Linked DNA regions of Homo sapiens: region 1 is linked to region 2. The links are contacts of gene promoters, found by promoter capture Hi-C in human tissues and cell types (Jung and others, 2019). All regions are on one chromosome and are shown on one strand. Each heading gives the region's core, a stretch centred on a gene start or on the middle of the fragment in contact. The rest is flanking DNA. Distances are from core to core; before and after follow the strand shown.

Region 1 (4,597 bases), core at 164-2,663, 230 kb before region 2:
CAGGAAGAGGAGTCGGGAGCAGGGTGGTTTGAGCAAATGCATGGTCCAGCAAGGAAGTGTTCGCCCCTGCAAGAGGCTTCGAGGCTGGAGGTGGTAGATGTGAGGTTGGTGCTTCCTCTGAGGGTCAGAGGGGCCCTGGGTGGGAGGAGTACAGGAACAGAACAAAGAGGATCCAGAAGGACACTGGGGCCCAAGAGCCCAGTAGGCTTGTGCCCCAATCCTTCTATCCATAATGTCCAACCTAAGACCCCAAGCCTCAGCTTCCTCCTCTCTAAAATGGGAAAACTCAGCCGGGCGTGGTGGCTCACGGCTGTAATCCCAGCACTTTGGGAGGCTGAGGTGGGCAGATCACTTGAGGTCAGGAGTTCGAGACCAGCCTGGCCAACATGGTGAAACCCTGCCTCTACAAAAAATACAAATGTGGGCCGGGTGTGGTGGTTGGTGCGGGCCTGTAGTTGCAGCTACTCAGGAGGCTGAGGCCCGAGAATCGCTTGAACCCTAGAGGCAGAGGCTGCAGTGAGCCGAGATCGCACCACTGCACTCCAGCCTCAGCGACAGAGTGAGACCCTGTCTCAAAACTAAAATAAAATGGGAGAAATTTATGAGTTGTGTGTAGACTCCATCAGGCAATGCTGGAGCACAGAGCCAGTCCCAAGAGATCTCAGCGGGCACACGGGGGAAGCGAGTAGCTTCAGGGACTGGCTGCATTTGGGCTTGGGAGTAGAGGGGAAACTGTGGGCGACGGTGAGTATCTGTTGCTTTATTGGAGGAATAAACATGAGTTTCCTGCGCCACCCCTTCATGGGAGACTCCCCCAGACCTTGGTCCTTCTCCCTTTTCCTCCAGAACCACAACATCCACAGAGCTCATAGGCCCCTTTTAATCAAATTTCGCGCTCCAAGAACTCGTGCATGCGCAATTGCCCCAAGGGACCCCCCGGAGCGTCTCCCATTTTCCCCCACTGCCCCCATAGCAGCTCAGGCCTGAGCCCCGCGCGTGCGCAGAGCGGCCTAACAGGTCGCACGTATCTCCCCAAAGCCCCCAGACCCGCGCATGCGCAGAGCGCCCGAACGGAGACCACCTCCCCTCCCCACGCCAATTCCGACTAAGGGTGCACGCGGCCCCCACCAACCCATCCCCCGACTTCAGCCTCGGGCGCCCCATGACCCCAGCAGCGAGACCGCACCGCCGCACCTTCCGCTGGAGCTCCCAGGCGCTGATGTAATTCTTGCCCAGCTGCGCCGCCAGCAGATACTCGCCATTGAGCAGCGCCAGGCCGCGGGGTCCCGCCTGGCCGCCGCGGTAGGTGAGCAGGTTGGCGCCCGAGTGAAGTTCCCACACGATGCAGCTCCACATCGGGGCCGCCGAGTCCGTACACACGGCCACCTCCATGGGCGCCGCCATCTTGCCTTCCCCACCGCCCCGGACGTGCGTCATCATGAGCGAGACGCGGACGACTGCCCCACGCGGGCCAGAGCGGCGGCCCCGCGGCCCCAGCGGGTGGCCGACCCGCGCATGCGCCCGTGCCTCGGAGAGAGGGGCTTTCTTGTGAAGTGGGATTTCCCGCTTACCTGAGACTCGAGGGTCGCGCGGCCTGCTTAGAGATCTGGGGAGGCGACTTCTTCCAAGGCCCAGGGTCTCCGGCGATCAGTTAGTAGCTCTAGAGCCGGGGTACCTGACTTGGCCTTTTCCTCCTGGGCATTTTTGGCCAAGTGACTCAAGCTCTTGGATTCATTTATTTTTAAATGTTCAAATAATAAAGTTCCGACGTCACAGGCCTAAATGACACATTGCGCCTAAAAGAGAGAGCGCACACCCAGCAACATGGCTAGTTGGCGATGAATACATTGGAATTCACTGCTTCCTTATTTATTTAGTTTTGTAGAGCCAGGGTCTCACTGTCCTGCCCAGGCTGGCCTCGAACTCCTGAGCTCAAGTGATCCTCCCAGCTCGGCCTGCCAAAGTGCTGGGATTACAGGCGTGAGCCACCGCGCCCGGCCCAGTGTTTCCTTATTGGTCGACATCTGCCTCCCCCTTGACCCCTCTTTAGGGGCCTCAACATCTAAATTATTAGTCGGATAGCTTGGTGTAGGTCAAACAAGTCGCCAGTTCTGTCCGAGCCAAGCAGGGTCTAACTTCATGTCACGGCTGCCCGTCACGGACCATGTCTGAAAACGGCATTCAAAAAAAAAAAAAGGCCGGGCGCTTTGGCTCAGGCCTGTAATCCCAGCACTTTGGGAGGCCGAGGTGGGTGGATTACCTGAGATCAGGAGTTCGAGACTACCCTGGCCAACATGGCGAAACCCCGTCTTTACAAAAAGTACAAAAAGCCGGGCGTGGTGGGAGGCTGAGGCAGGAGAATCGCTTGAACCCGGGAGGCGGAGGTCTCAGTGAGCCGAGATCCCAGGCACTCCAGCCTGGGCGAATGAGACTCTGTCTCAAAGAAAAACATATATCTATTATTTATTTATACTAAATATATATCTAGTAGAGATGGGGGGTCTCACTGTGTTGCTCAGGCTGGTCTCCAACACCTGGGCTTAGGCCTTGGCCTCTTAAACCGCTGGGATTACAGGCTTCAGCCACAACGTCCGGCCTAAAAACAGTATGATTTAAAATGTGCAATTAGTTGCCAACCCCTTAAAAAGGGATAAAAAGGGAGCATTCATTTAAAAGTCGGGATTTCCGCCCGGGGGTTGCAGCTGACCTGGGTCGTGTGCCCTCGAGCAGCAAGAGGCAGGGGCTGGAGGCTGCATGCGGGGTGCGGTCCCCGGAGGCGGTGCGACTCCTGGTCCGCGGCTCCCGGCGGAGGGCACGGCCGGGGCAGGAGGCTGGTGCCAGAGCGTGCGGCGCCGCAGCCCCGCTGGCCGCCAGGTGGCAGGCGCGAGCCACCGACCCCGAGCCCAGGCCAGAGGGAGGGCGGCCCCGGGGACCCGCCTGGTCGGCAGGAGGGGCCGTTTGAGCGGGGAGCCAGCGACCCCCAGAGAACCGTGTGCGGGGCAGGCCCGTGCGAAGGCCCTGGGGCAGGACCACGGAGCGGGGCCGGGCCGTGCAGGGCCGTGTGAACGAGGCCTGGATTTCATTTTATCCTGGGAGGGAGGGAGGGAGTCCAATCCAAGGACCTGCTGTGCCTCCAGAGTTTCCTCCAACCTCATTTTTATTTTCTTTCTTTATTTTGCGACAGTCTTGCTCTGTGGCCCAGGTTGGAGTGCAATGGTGCGATCTCGGCTCACTGCTACCTCTGCCTCCCGGGTTCAAGCGATTCTCCTGTCTCAGCCTCCCGAGTAGCTGGGATTACAGGTGTGAGCCGCCACGCCCAGCTAAGTTTTGTATTTTTAGTAGAGACGGAGTTTCACCACGTTGGCCAGGCTGGTCTCGAACTCCTGACCTCAGGTGATCTGCCCGTCTCGGCCTCTCAAAGTGCTGGGATTACAGGCGTCAGCTACTGAGGCCGGCCTCCAACATTATTTAAAAAACATTATTTAAAAAAATCGGCGGGGCGTGGTGGCTCCGGCCTGTAATCCCAGCACTTTGGGAGACCGAGGTGGGTGGATCACGAGATCAAGATCATCCTGGATAACAAGGTGAAACCCGTCTCTACTAAAAATACAAAAATTAGCTGGGCACAGTGGTGCATGCCTGTAATCCCAGCTACTCGGGAGGCTGAGGCAGGAGAATCGTGCAATCATGGCTCACTGTAGTCTCCAATTCCTGGGCTCAAGCCATCCTCCCACCTCAGCTTCCCGAGTAGCTGGAACCATAGGAACCACACTCAACTAATTTTGTGCTTTTTTTTTTTCTTTTTTTGCAGCGACAGGGTCTTGCTTTATTGCCCAGCTGGTCTTAAACTCCCGGGCTCAAATGATGCTCCCACCTTGGCCTCCCGAAGGGTTGGGATTACAGACATGAGCCACTGTGCCTGGCCTTGTTTTAATTTTTACTTTATTTATTTTTGTTTTTTGTAGACAAGCAGGAGAGGTGGATCTCACTCTGTTGCCCAGGCTGGAGTGCAGTGGCGTGATCTCAGCTCACTTCGACCTCCGCCTCCTGGCTTCAAGTGGTTTTCCTGCCTCAGCCTCCTGAATAGCTGGCATTGCAGGTGTTCACCACCACGCCCGGCTAATTTTTGTAGTTTTAGTAGAGACGGGGTTTCACCATGTTGGCCAGGCTGGTCTCGAACACCTGACCTCAGGTGATCCACCTGCCTCAGCCTCCCAAAGTGCTGGGATTACAGGCGTGAGGCACCGCACCTGGCCTTTTTTTTCATTTTTCTTTTTCTTTTTTTCTTTTGAAATTGAGTCTTGCTCTTGTTGCCCAGGCTGGAGTGCAATGGCACAATCAGCTCACTGCAACCTCCGCCTTCTGGTTTCCAGCGATTCTCCTGCCTCACCCTCCGGAGTAGCTGGGACTACAGGCATGTGCCACCATGCCCGGCTAATTTATTTTGTATTTTTAGTAGAGACGGGGTTTCACCATGTTGGCCAGGCTGGTCTCAAACTCCTGACCTCGTGATTTGCCCGCCTCAGCCTCCCAAAGTGCTGGGATTACAGGCGTGAGCCACTGCGCCTGGTTCATTTTTAGTTTTTCTTAACAGAGT
Region 2 (4,699 bases), core at 1,453-3,952:
CAGAGAAAGACCCTGTCTCAAAAGAAAAACAAACCCCCACAAAGCAGGACTGTCGCTCCCGGGCCACCAAGGCTATTATTTAGATCTGCTGCCTTTACACCAACCAGCAGCATTTTTTTTTGTTTTTAAACAGACAGGGTCGGCCAGGCACAGTGGCTCACACCTGTAATCCCAGCACTTTGGCGGATCACGAGGTCAGGAGATCGAGACCATCCTGGCTAAAATGGTGAAACCCCATCTCTACTAAAAATACAAAAAAAATTAACCGGGTGTGCTGGCGGGCGCCTGTAGTCCCAGCTACTCAGGAGGCTGAGGCAGGAGAATGCTGTGAACCCGGGAGGTGGAGCTTGCAGGGAGCTGAGATCGCACCATTGCACTCCAGCCTGGTGACAGAGCTAGACTCCGCCTCAAAAAAAAAAAAAAAGAAAAAAAGAAAAAAAAAGAAAAACTTAGCCCCTCTCTGAACTGGAAAGTGGCATCAAACAGCATAAAGTGGAGAGACCGTGGGGAGCCGTGTTGAAACTACACGCAATGTGTCATGCAATCTTCCGCGCGTATCAAATGTCAGAAACTAAAATAGGGGAAACATTGAAAACCAGGCGGCATTGGTGAATAAATCCCACACAAACAGCTGAGCTTCCTCCCAAAGCGTGACGCACAGATGGCTCCCCTGACCCGAGGCCTCCTCCTCCGTGGACGCCGCCTGCCCAGCTCACGGAAGGCCTTGCCTTCTCCCACCCGAAACCGTCAGCCCAGGCCTCGCTCTCGCCTGCTGTGGCCACAGGTCAGCACCCTTCCTGCAGCCCAGAGTCTGGTATACAGCAGGCGCCTAATAAATACTGGCTGGGCAAACACCACTCATCCCAGCTGCTCAGACGTGGGGGTCGGGCTCATTGCGGAATGCAGACCGGCTCCACCGTGCCTTCTGGCCCTGAAGGGCTGGGCAGGTCCACGCCCTGCACCCTGGAGCTCCCCGGGGAGGGCGGGTGTAGGAATGTTTGCCCAGTGAGTGGACAGACGTTTACACAGCGGGATTTATAACCCACATCAGACGTCAACTCCGGGAGAAAGGGAGCTGTCCGCCCAGCCTCGAGCAGGTGCCGGGTCTCCCAGTGGGGTCGGGGTTGGGTGGGGATGAAGGCACGCATCCTCCTCTGCTCATTCCTCCCCAGTGATTCACTGAAGCCAGCGGGTGGGGCCTGGGGTCCAGCTCTTGGGTTCAAGGCCACTGGGCCCCCTCCCCTGCTGCCTGTGCCTCAGTGCCCACCCCCGCCCCCCGCTTTTTTTTTTGAGATAGAGTCTCCCTCTGTCGCCCAGGCTGGAGTGCAGTGGCGCGATCTCCATTCACTGCAACCTCTGCCTCCCGGATTCACACCATTCTCCTGCCTCAGCCTCCCAAGTAGCTGGGACTACAGGCGCCCGCCACCACGCCCGGCTAAGTTTTGTATTTTTAGTAGAGATGGGGTTTCACTGTGTCGGCCAAAAAAACCCCTGGATCCACGGCGGCTCTCATGGCCGGCATTCTTGGGCAGCGGCGCTGCCCTCGGGGGAAGAGCCCCAGGACGGAAGATGGCCCCTGCAAGGCCCGGCGGTGGCTAAGGACCTCGGCGTCCTGAGACTCTTCCTGCAACACCTTGGAACCGTTTTCGACTCCGGTTTTCGAGAGAGGGAGCTGGGACCCAGAGAGGAGAACCTGCTCATCTGAGGTCACACAGCGATGACAGAGCAAGTGTCTGAAGCCAGTTTTCAGACTTTGCTCCAAATCACCCCCTCCTACAGGAAGCCCCCTGGGTTGCTCCTCCCAGCCTCACCCTGAACTCTGTTGATACCAGAATGAAACTGGGTTTATGGACCCTGGTGCCACACCTCCTTCCTCATCAGCCAGTTGGCTCTATGTGAGGGGCAAAGGTTCCCTTGTGGGGCCGAGACTCAGACAAGGAGGCCATGCAGAAGGGAGGGCCCCGTTCCTTTTTCCCATCCCTCAGGGTTGCAGTCACCCTTGAGTCATCTCAGCTCCTTGGGCTCCTGGGCGGAGCTCCACCGGCAGACGCTGGGCCGAGTCCCTGCTGGCTGCCCGGGATCCCAGGCTACCACCTCACCCCCACCCGAGGACCCAGGCCAAGTCCCCAGCCCCGGCCTGAGACTCCTTCCGCCTGTACTCAGCCACCCCTCCTCCGTGTCCCCAAACCAGCCCCCAGCCCCACGGGGGTGTTTACTGCCCAGAGCCTCCCAGTCAGGGGCCTGGTGGGACGGATAAGCATCTCTCCAGAAGCCTCTGGAATTCCCAGAACCATGGAGGGGCCCCTCTGGCCTCTGACCATGGGGGTGCCAACCCGGCCCCTCCCTTGGAGGGCTCTGGGATTTGGGGTTCAAAAGCCCCAGCAGAGTTCAGGGACAAGGGCCTCTCTGCTCTCCCAGTGGGTGCCCTTGAGGCCCCAGAGTACCTAGCGGGGGCAGAGGGAAAGGTGCCTCAGGGAGGCTCCGAGGGTGACGGGGTGGGGCAGGGGGCCTCCCTGGATCCCAAGTGCCGCCAGGCAAGCAGACCCCGCCCACAGACACATGACGCTCCCACGCCAAATGTGGATCCAACCGCCCCACACAGGATCCCCGCCCGGCCCGGCCCGGGGCGCCCCCAGCCTCACCTGCCGGCTCCCGGCTCCACAGTCTGCAGCCTCCACTCTGACTCCTCGATGGGCACAGAGGCCTCCCAGCTCCGCCCTGCCCGCCAGGTTGCCAGGGAACAGAGGCCCCACCCAGGGGAGGCAGGTGTGCCCCCTCCCCCCAGCCCCACCTGGGATCAGGAAACAAAGTCCAGAGGAGGAGGAGGGAGAAAGAGGATACCAGGCTGGGCAAGGGCGGGCACCGTGCCCGCTGCCGGCTGCCCCTCCACCCCCAGGGCCTCCAGGTGGCCCCGAGGAGCCAGAACTCAGCCGAAACCTCCCTTGGCTGCCTGGCCCTCCCACCGCCTCTCAGCACCGCTCAGAGAGGGTCAGCAGGTGTCCAGGGCCACACAGCAGCTCAGCGTGCACAGTGGCCTGTGTCTCCTGGGGGGCCGGAGGGGCTGAGTCCCAATCCCGTCCGTGCCTTCTGGCCCAGCCCACCCCTTGGGGCAACTCCCCTAGATGGCCCCCTTCTTGCATAAACCAGGTTTGGCAGACTCGGGGGGGTTTGGTGTGGCCTGGGTTCTGATCCCACCTGACCTCTCTTAGCCCTGTTTTCTCCTCCGGGACGTGGGGGAACATCACGCCCGGGCTCCCTCAGGGCTGCTGGGAGGAATTCCCTAGGCCCCATCCACATAAAAACCCATACGAGGGGGCCGGACTTGGTGGCTCACACCTGTAATCCCAGCACTTTGGGAGGCCGAGGCGGGCGGATCACTTGAGGCCAGGAGTTCGAGACCAGCCTGGCCAACATGGCGAAACCCCGTCTCTACTAAAAATACAAAATTTAGCGGGGTATGGTGGCACGCTATTATAATCCCAGCTACTTGGGAGGCTGAGGCAGAAGAATCACTTGAACCCAGGAGTTGGAGGTTGCAGTGAGCCGAGATCACACCACTGCACTCCAGCCTGGGCGACAAGAGCAAAACTCCAACTCAAAAAAAAAAAAAAAAAAAAAAAAAAAAGAACCGCACGAGGCCGTCAAAAGACCCAGGCCACCCCGAGAGATGGGGACGCAGAGGCCCTCAGGCGCCCATGGTCCTCCTGGATTCTTAGTCAAGGTGCAGAGGCCTTGCTGGGACTGTGGGGAGCCCAGCATCTGTGGGGAAGTCGGGCCACTGGGCCTAGCGCCGTCTATGAGGGCAGGGAACACAGCTGAGGGGGCAGGGACTTCAGTTCCCCAGGCTGGGGCTCTGTCCTGACCTACGCCAGAGGGGCTGCTTGTGGAGCCCCTCTGAACCTCAGTCTCTTCTTCGAGTAAAAAGGCCCCCAGCTACGAATCCAGCAGGGCTGCTCAGGAGGGGGGTGCTTTTTTTGTGTTTTTTTTTTGAGACGGAGTCTCGCTCTTGTCACCCAGGCTGGAGTGCAGTGGCACGATCTCGGCTCACGGCAACCTCCCCTGTTCAAGCAATTCTCCTGCCTCAGCTTCCCTAGTAGCTGGGATTACTGGCATGAGCCACCACGCCCAGCTATTTTTGTATTTTTAGTAGAGACAGGGTTTTGCCACGTTAGCCAGGCTGGTCTCGAACTCCTGACCTCAGGTGATGCCCCCGCCTCAGCCTCCCAAAGTGCTGGGATTACAGGCGCGAGCCACGGCGCCTGGCCAAGATGGGGGTGTTTAAGGACAAATCTGGATAAAGGGCCCCCAAAGGACAGCGTGGCACCTAACGCTGCTGGGTGTGTGAAAGCTCAGGGTGCGCGGCCTCACGGCGCCTCCCACCGCCGCCTCCCGCCACCCCCTTCACGTCCTTTTCTCCCTGGCTTGTAGATAGGGAAACGGAGGTACGGAAAGCTTAAAATCGCGCCTCAGGAATGGCGGGGGTTTAGGCTGGAATTGGAACCTGAGTTCCCTCAGCAGTGCTCTCCACCACACTCACCACCTCATCGGGGAAAACTGAGGCCCCAGCAGGGTGGAGGCTGGATCGCCCATGAGCTGGGGGCACTGTGGAGACGTCCCACGCCCAGGCTGAGGCTGGCCTCCCACTCAGGGCTCCGAAGGCCTATTTTATTTTATTTGAGACAGAGTCTCGCTCTGTCGC

Evidence for each region. Contacts are between HindIII fragments. The study calls those that stand out against the background at their distance.
Region 1: a contact is called between the fragment with the promoter of WDR18 here and the fragment with the promoter of MISP in region 2, in 8 of the 25 tissues and cell types used here (H1 embryonic stem cells, aorta, dorsolateral prefrontal cortex and 5 more).

What each region holds. Positions count from the first base shown.
Region 1 is chr19:981,161-985,757 of GRCh38, reverse strand. WDR18 (WD repeat domain 18) reads right to left here and starts at 1,413. Exons shown (of 10, transcript NM_024100.4): 1 at 1,195-1,413. The coding sequence starts at 1,404. RefSeq lists enhancers at 1,094-1,273, 1,304-1,453, 878-1,819 and silencers at 1,504-1,593, 2,758-3,147. The HindIII fragment of the contact is 34,067 bases long and covers 1-4,597 here.
Region 2 is chr19:749,115-753,813 of GRCh38, reverse strand. MISP (mitotic spindle positioning) reads right to left here and starts at 2,702. Exons shown (of 5, transcript NM_173481.4): 1 at 2,643-2,702. The HindIII fragment of the contact is 28,409 bases long and covers 1-4,699 here.